Linked DNA regions of Homo sapiens: regions 1 and 2 are each linked to region 3. Evidence: promoter capture Hi-C in human tissues and cell types (Jung and others, 2019). All regions are on one chromosome and are shown on one strand. The core of a region is centred on a gene start or on the middle of the fragment in contact, and the rest is flanking DNA. Distances in the headings are between cores, read along the strand shown.

What was found. The method cuts DNA at HindIII sites, captures the fragments that hold promoters and counts their contacts. A contact is called where the count stands out against the background at its distance.
Region 1: a fragment that was not itself captured here is called in contact with the fragment with the promoter of GINS4 in region 3 in 1 of the 25 tissues and cell types used here (heart right ventricle).
Region 2: a contact is called between a fragment that was not itself captured here and the fragment with the promoter of GINS4 in region 3, in 1 of the 25 tissues and cell types used here (liver).

The regions. Positions count from the first base shown.
Region 1 is chr8:40,246,727-40,249,726 of GRCh38, reverse strand. No RefSeq gene overlaps it. Among named protein-coding and RNA genes, the nearest start is that of TCIM, 95 kb to the right of the region's middle. The HindIII fragment of the contact is 3,343 bases long and covers 1-3,000 here.
Region 2 is chr8:40,208,447-40,211,357 of GRCh38, reverse strand. No RefSeq gene overlaps it. Among named protein-coding and RNA genes, the nearest start is that of TCIM, 56 kb to the right of the region's middle. The HindIII fragment of the contact is 4,749 bases long and covers 1-2,911 here.
Region 3 is chr8:41,527,706-41,530,713 of GRCh38, reverse strand. GINS4 (GINS complex subunit 4) reads right to left here and starts at 1,453. Exons shown (of 8, transcript NM_032336.3): 1 at 1,318-1,453; 2 at 416-530. The coding sequence starts at 511. RefSeq lists a silencer at 1,478-1,907. The HindIII fragment of the contact is 17,762 bases long and covers 1-3,008 here.

The DNA.
Region 1 (3,000 bases), core at 216-2,715, 1.3 Mb after region 3:
ACCAGTGAAGGATTCTACTGAGAGATCAGAATCTTTGGGAAATTCCTAGATAAAGTGCTGATGGGAAAAACAATTGAGGGAGTTCACTGAAGGTTTATTTCCAGCAATGTCTTTGAACAAAAATAAATGTCAGTTGGAAGCATGTAAAAGAGCCCTTTTAAAAAGAAACAAAAACAAAAAAACCCTTAAACCTTATTTGAACATCCTGGTTCCAAGGGTGAGGACTGGCTATCTAACCTTTAGGGAATGCATTTGTTAGATATTTATTTCTTAGCTCAGAACAGCAGCACGTGAAAATTGTGGTTCATGGAGAGGCTAAGGGAAACAGAAAAATAGCTTAATGTTGAATGTTTAACCCCATCAGTCTTGGTTTTAAAAAACAGAAACCAACTATGACTGATATAAGCAAAACATAAAATTACTAGGATATTAGGTAACTCATAGAATCACTAGGAATACTGATGAAATGTGTTATGGTTTAAAGGTATCCCCCAAAGAGCATGTGGTGGGAACTTAATCTCAAATGCAATAGTGTTGCCAAGAGGGAGATGGGCCCTAATGGCAGGCGTTTAGGTCACGAGGGCTCCACCTTCATGAATTGATTAATGCTCATTAAAAAATGGCTTGGGGCTTTTTGTCCTTGCGATAGTTTGCTGAGAATGATGGTTTCCAGCTTCATCCATGTCCCTACAAAGGACATGAACTCATCATTTAAAAACCAAACACCACATGTTCTCACTCATAGGTGGCAATTGAACAATGAGAACACATGGACACAGGAAGGGGAACATCACACACTGGGGACTGTTGTGGGGTGGGGGGAGGGGGGAGGGATAGCATTAGGAGATATACCTAATGCTAAATGATGAGTTAATGGGTTCAACACACCAACATGGCACATGTATACATATGTAACAAACCTGCACGTTGTGCACATGTACCCTAAAACTTAAAGTATAATAATAATAAAATAAAATAAAATAAAAAAGAAAATGGCTTGGGGCTGTGAGTCTGATCTCTTGCTCTTTCTTGCCTTCTCTTTGCCCTTCTGCCATGGGATGATACAGCAAGAAGGTACTTGCAAGATGCTGGCCCCTCGATATTGGACCTCTCAACCTCCAAAATGATTAGCCAATAAATTTATGTTCATTATAAATTACCCCGTTTCAAGCATTCTCTGGTAGCAGCACAAAACAGACTAAGACAAACGGATTGTGAAACAGGCAGAAAACAGTTTAGACAACAATAGTGGGCACAATAGTTTATACCAAGACTACCAGCAGCTGTAGGCTCTGGAAACCACTGCCAGTTATGCTTCTTCCATGACCTACAGAAACAGTGAGTTACTGTTTTCTTAGTTACCAGAAATTTCTCACATTGTGTCTTTGCATCTTTGGCTAATGATTCAAAGGCCCAGGCCAGTTCACCTCATTGTCTAAGCTTATGGGAGAAACAAAGATTCTATTTTAACTTCTAAATTATCCTTATGTTGTTACTGCTAGACCAGCTATTATTCTTGCAAAACAAAAGTTTCAGACATACTTTTACTAAATAAGTGATTAATCAAACTTAAAATGTCATGAATGGGAAATCCATGACAAAAAAACCAGTGGTTAGCATTAATTATAATTTGTAAAAAATAATGCTGCAATATGGAAGGCAAATATAAAATATACTTATTTACATATGATATATATTTATTTACATATAATAGTCAACAATAATAATAACTAGTGCCACAGTGTATGGAGAAAAATTGGGAAGTTAGTAGCTTAAGAGAAATAAGAAATATGCTAATTTCTTTGCATAGGATATATTCTTTATATAATATTTATTTAATAAAATGTTATGTTAGTACTTTCAATACTACAGATAATAACCCCTCAAAAAGTGCCCATAGAACACATACAAAGAGTGATCATATATTAGGTTTGTATTAGTAAGAAACTATTTCAGGTAACTTAGAATGTGCCCAGAGAGGCACAAAGAGGCTGTGTTTTGTTTTGTTTTTGTTTTCAAACATAGCAAGAAGTACAGATGAAAAATGTAATTGATGTACAGCTCATTTAAAAGCTCGAAATCACAGTAGATTTATTCTATTAGTTTCTCGGCCTTTCCTTCAGGGTTTTAGTATGTCTGATATTGCTCTCATTGGACCATCTGTGTTCAAGGCAAAAAAGGGGTGGAGAGTAATCAATGGGTTTGTAAGGAAAGAAAAATCTACCAGAAAACACAACAGATTGCCACTTTGGAAACATATCTCCCACAACTGAAGTGGACTAAGGGAAGGGTGGTAGATATGAAGTCAGCTAATCAATATTGTTTATTGACCATAAGATAAAAGAAAAGACCTCATTCAATTAAATGAAATTGTGTAAAACATATTATCATCAAAGTAGAAGTTAACATAAAATGTCAAAAGAATATTTTTCAGCTTTGGAAAATTAAAAATATTGTCCTAATTAACTCTTTTGTCAAAGAGGAAGTCAACTTCAATCACAAACTTTTAAGAAAATCATTACAATGAAGAAACTATACATAAATTATTAGCACTATGTTTAGCTGAACCTTCAAAATTTTAAATATGTCTCTAATAAATGAGACTAGCTGGAAAAATAACTATATAATCAATTCTAAACTTTAAGTTAATTTTTATATGCTAAGAAAATCAGGAAGATTAAACTCAGAGGTAATAAATTAGGAATCAGAAAACAGAAAAACAATAGAGCTAACAGAGACACCCCAAATTATTTCTTTTAAAAATAAATATTTACCTATGTAACAAACCTGCACATCCTGCACATGTACCCTGGAACTTAAAATAAAAGTTGAAGAAAAAGAGATAAAAATAAATATAATAGAAAAACTTTTGTTCTAATGATTATCTGATAATCTTTTAAAAAAAGACAGAAAAAACAAAAACATAAAATTTTACACCAAAAAGCTATAAAAATGTCTGGTTATAGTGTCAAATTGAAAATATGTTGTACTCATTCCTTG
Region 2 (2,911 bases), core at 121-2,620, 1.3 Mb after region 3:
GTTTCTTCCCATTCAACATCATCATTATGAACACTTTGTCACTTGTATTAATTGTGTTTCATTGCGTTAATTCTGGCTCCATGGGTCTCTGCCAGTTCCGTTGCAAATAAAATGAACAAAGGAAATCTGGGATACAAAAAGTTTTCTAAGATATGTGTTAATGATAGTATCTAGAAGAAATAAGACCAGATCTAAAATCTGCACTCTAAAGGCTCTGGAGAAATAGCAGTGATTAAACATCCATTAATGAGGGCTGTTACTACCTGGTGCTCATGACCCTTGGTCCGCTGATAATTCGCCATAAAGAGATTAAAATGTAATAGTGCTTTTCTGAGGAGGCTGCAGTAACCATCTTTAACAGCACCCGTGGCAGTGTTATTGTGATTTGCAGTTTCCCTGGTGACCGCCCTTCCGGATGTCCTTCCGAAGAACAGTCAACTTCTGCCCTTCCTCCAAACCAAACTGACTCAGACGATCTGTCCTCATTGAATTAAGTGGCATCCAGGCTTTAGGCATCCTGTTCTTATCTCATTTGTGTCCTCTAAACCAGCCTATGTGCAACCCCCACTGATACTTAGAGAATGATCACAGCACACATAGCCTTGGTTGCAGGCAGGTCCTGGCTTACTTGATCAATGTCTCCAGAAATTGTATACACACTACAGTCTGGTGAGTTAAATCACATCTTAAATAAGCTAGAAGAACTCATTTTTTAAAAAACGTCCACAGAAAATCTTCCCCCACCAAGTCCTTAATTTACCTGAATTATAGCTCTGAGTTGTTACAAACAATATCAAATCTATTTAAAAATCAGCTTAACTGCAAATATCCAATACAATTAATAGTTTAGGGGAAACAGAAAGGTATGGCACGTTGAAGAAATTGACAGTTTTGAGTTTTGAATCCAGCTTTTGGTTTTGCCCTTATTAAGGTTTATAGCCCAGTGCCTGACACTGGTTCTTGATTATATAGTTTATTGCACAACTGGTAATGGATAAATAAAATAAATTCAAAAAGAAATAAATGAAATTGATCATGTGGAGATAGATTCCTAAACAGCTTTCAAAACCGAAATGCCATCTTTATGTAATTTTATTCAAAGTAATAATAACTGTGTTATTTATTACTAAAGAATTTAATTTGCTTTTGAAAATATTTTATTTCACTTAACTGTGATGGTTGTAAAAAGTTGCAGAATTTGCAGAAATATTTCATTATATTTGGCATTTATCATTTGTTTATCACTTTTGCCAACAACGTAAGGAGGTGATGAATTCAAATTTGAAAATAAACATTGAATGTGTTCAGTCTGAATTGTTTGCTTAGCATGAATTACACTTAAAGGACTATTCAGTTTTATGTGAGGTAATGGAAATACCATTCTGTGTCAATGGAAATATTAAGAAGAGGTTGGTTAGAGAAATTTCTGCATTTTGAAGAGATGGTTCCAGACCAATGGCTTGAATCCTTTGTTAGACTTTGGAATGACAAATGAAGTTGAGTAAATAACAAAAACAGAAAAAGAAAACAAAATAAAAACAAAAAAACTGGTGTCTAACCTCCACACCTGATTCTCTTGTTTGTATTTGGGTCTGGGTATAAATATTATTTGAAAGCTCCCTAATACGCAACCACAGTTGAAAACCGTTCCTCTGGAAGATTTCATTATTTCCTTCCAGCACTAAGATTTTGCCCTTCCTAGAAAGTGTTGTACTTTATTGTAGCTTAAGGAACAGGAAAAAAAGAGTGTATATTTTAATTTTGCAAGTAAAAATATTAATTGGGATTGAATGAATCTTCTGATGCAGATAACGTAAAATCACTTTTAATGAAAAAAATTAAATATTTATACAAATATCTGCTATGTTCCATGGGTGGTATACGTAGTTTACATATATGAACTAATTGAACTCTTGGAGTATAGCCTATTAACTAATATTAGAATAATTATATGAAGATGGTAGCACCAGCATCATCATCATTATCCCTATTACAGGTAAACTGATAGGGTTGTTAAGGAGTATGTTTATCTATCAATAAGTGGAAAAACTGAAACCAGGCAGTTGGCTTTAGGGGATACATAGTTACCCCAAACACTCTACTGCCTGTCACAGTTCTACAAACAGGACCCGCCACAATGTGTACACCCAAATCCTTCATCCAGCCTAGTGCCCTTTTTTAGGACATTATAGGACACTTGGGAAAAACTTGATTTATTTTCAATGAATAAGTGCAGAATTCAGCCCTGTCTAAAAGAATGAGCTATAGTCTCCAGTATCATCTTGACATTCCATTAGAAACACCTTGAAGACAGATGGAAATTCATCCCTGTTGTGAAACCCTCCAGAAAATGATATGACACAATATCCCTGAGGTCATACATTTTAATACCTAACCTCTTCTTCCCCCAAGTTTCTTCTTATATCCAATCCAAATGTCTCATATTCTAGTTTTAACTCTTTTATTTTATTATCTTCTCCTTTGTCTAGAGAGGAGCTTGAAAAAAAAAAATCTGACTTGGAACAGTTTCATTTTCCTTAGCCAGCAGCTGGGATATAGGTGGAGCTTTGTGCTCTGTTCCTACCAGATGGCCGAAACTGCTGCCCCAGTGGCGGACAACCATGAATGGGTGCCAGCATTGCTCAGGAGCTTTGAAAAGTGACCCATGGCCAAGCCCCACCCTAGGCCAATTCCATGCTGTGGTCATCTGTCCATGTCAAAAATCTACTACTTCCTAACTGTTAATATCTCTTCACGCAATGTCTTTTATGCATTGCTGGTGATTTTAATAAACTTTGGTTGACCTTTTAGATTGTATTTGCCAGTGTTGAACAGCATTCCGTAGGTAGCTACTCACACTGCCTCCCTGCGGGGCCAGTTCACCCAGTGCGTATGATCTCCTGCATAAGGA
Region 3 (3,008 bases), core at 204-2,703:
ATGTGAGAAAAAGGAAAAATATGACCAGTTTTCCCTTACAGGCATTTCAGCATTTTCTTGCTAAACAGGCATTCTCCAGGGAAACAGCAGATGTTCAAGGGACTAAGGTAAAGAAGTTCAGGGACCTCTACAGTCCCTGAAAATATCACGTGGATCCTTGCTCTGTGAACTGTTCACTGAATGTGCCCAAAGCTGTCCCTTACTGACCCCACTTGGGGATGCTGTGTTTGATATGATGAGGTCTCTAACAGAGGATGTCCTTCTTGCTTCCCGTTTCCATGTAGATGGTAAGATCCAGTCCCTGTTCTAAAGTAAGCCCCAAATTCCGTTTCCTCATCTTGTGATCCCTGATATTCACAGTTGAACTAAATAAAAAGGCTGACTGGAGCAAAGGGATTCGATCTGGGATGCTTACCTGCTCCAATCTTTCAATGAGCTCTGCAGGAGTTAGGACCACTTCCTCACTACCCCCATCAGAGTCCTGTCCCAGGAAATCCACTTCTTCGGTCATCTTCTCTGAAACCAGGAACCTAATGAGAGGGAAAGAACCAATACTCTGCAATGCGTTTTCTAATTATCTGCAAGAACAGACATCTATCTGGAGAAAGGAAAGGTTTATTGAGGTTTCCTGGGGTTGTAGAGGCCCTTTAGCAAGTGGTGAGAGAACGCAGGGACTCTAGTTTTCCAGTGTCTGCCTCTTCCTCCAAGGCTTAGGTCAGGTATCCGTTTCTCAAACAAGCCTCCCCCTTACTTCTGTCCACCAAGAGCTGAGCACCCATCACACCATACAATCACTATTCATTTCTTTGACTTCCCAGTAGAGGTCTTGTTCCTCAGGGACGGGGTTCGTTTTAGTTCAAATACGAATCGCGCCTCTGCTCAGTGCCTGGCACTAAGCACTGGGGACGCAATGACGTGGGAAGCCCCTGCGCTCAGCACAGCGCTTGACTCCTAGCAAGCACTTAACATTATTAGGAGCTGGCCGGGCTCACGCCTGTAATCCCAGCACTTTGGGAAGCCGAGGCAGGAAGATACCTTGAGCCCAGGAGTTCGAGACCAGCCTGGGCAACATAGGGAGATCCTGTCTCTATAAAAACAAAAATTGTTAGGAAGATTAATCAATGCTAATTTCCCAGAGCCACAAGGGCCGGCGACATTAGACCAGTCGGCGATCCCAAAGGCCTAAGGAGGTGGATGGCGGGGACAAAGAAAGTCCCTGGGGTCGCAAGGAAACTGCGAACATCCCCCTCCCCTCCTCCCTCTCAGTGCCACCCACACAGGCCTGCCCTAGCCACAGAGGTCCCATTCGACGCTCACTCGGGGACCTGGGAGACAGCGAGGCACTCCACAGCAGCCGGCGGTAAGGACGGGGCGTTCGTGGGGACGCAGTCGGGGCACCAGGAAGCGGGAAGACAGAGGAACAAACTGCTCAAGGACTTGCCGGGACCAACTCAACCCTGCAACTTCTCAGCTCCCGCGCTACTCTCGCAAAGTTTCCGCCCAGGCACGACGTCATCGCGCAAGGGCGACGCTGACCAATCAAGGCCCGGGGGGAAGAGCGGGGCGGTCTCCTTGGGCCCGCCCACCCGGCGGGCGGGGACTGTCTTCGCGGCGGCCTGCAGTCCCAGCAACCCAAGGACTTGAGGCGGCGGGAGGCTGGTCCGGGTTGGCCCCGCCCACCTGGGGGCCGGCCGCTCCGCTGTGCGGTCCGGGTTGCACTACCCAAGAGCGTCGGGAGGGGGCGCCCGCCACCGCGGCCAAGGGGAGCGGCGGTGTCCGCCCCGGGGGGTCCCACCCAGAAGTATGCTGTTGAAAGCAGGCCGCTGCAGCCTCCTGGGCCGTCTCCACCCACAGCTCTCGTGGCTCTTTGGGTTCCTCCGTCTTTGCGGGGTTTCACCTGTGGTCAGTGTGGTCATTGCCTTCAGAATCTCCAGTATATTCCTTTTCATCTTTCTTGAGACAGGGTCTCGTTCTGGTGCCCAGGCTGGAGTGCAGTGGCACCACCACAGCTCACTGCAACCTCCGCCTCCCGGGCTCCAGCGATCCTCCCACCTCAGCCTCCGGAGTAGCTGGGACCACAGGCCAGCGCCACCACGCCCAGTTATTTTTTAATTAAAAAAAAAAAAAAAAAGAACTGTGGCGGGGTTGGGGGTGGGGAGGTTCTCCCTATGATGGCCAGGCTGGTCTCGAACTCAAGGATCCAAGCAATCCTCCCACCTCGGCCTCACAAAGTGGGTACTGGTTCTTGAAGCCTGGGATCGGACGACCAGCAGAAGCATCGCCTGGGAATCCGTGAAAATGCAGGTTCTCAGGCCCCACCCTGGCCCACCGAATCAGAAACTGGGGGTATTTCACCAGACCCAGGCCCTCCCGGTGACCCTGACACAGCTGAGGTTTGAGAATCACTGCTTTGGGGCCGGGCGCGGTGGCTCACGCCTGTAATCCCAGCACTTTGGGAGGCCGAGGTGGGCGGATCACGAGGTCAGGAGATCGAGACCATCCTGGCTAACATGGTGAAACCCCGTCTCTACTAAAAATACAAAAAAATTAGCCGGGCGTGGTGGCGGGCGCCTGTAGTCCCAGCTACTCGGGAGGCTGAGGCGGGAGAATGGCGTGAACCCGGGAGGCGGAGCCTGCAGTGAGCCAAGATGGCGTCACTGCACTCCAGCCTGGGAGACAGAGCCAGACTCCATCTCAAAAAAAAGAAAAAAAAAGAAAAAAGAAAAGAGAATCACTGCTTTGGGGCAATGCTTTCAACTCACCTTCTGGAGGGGAAAAGCACAAAAACCCATGTCTGTATATGTATATATTTTTTCCATCTTTGTGTGATCCAGTTTTTCTTCTCTGAGTTGCTGATTCTTTTCTCTTTGCTGTCCTTTGTTTTCTGTGCAAAGCGTTGCTTCTGGCTTCCCTAAAAGTATCTCTTCTCCATCAATCTGAGGGCTCTTTGCAAAGCTGCCCTATGATGTCATATTGATTGACTAGTAAAATGATTGGCTAATATAGTA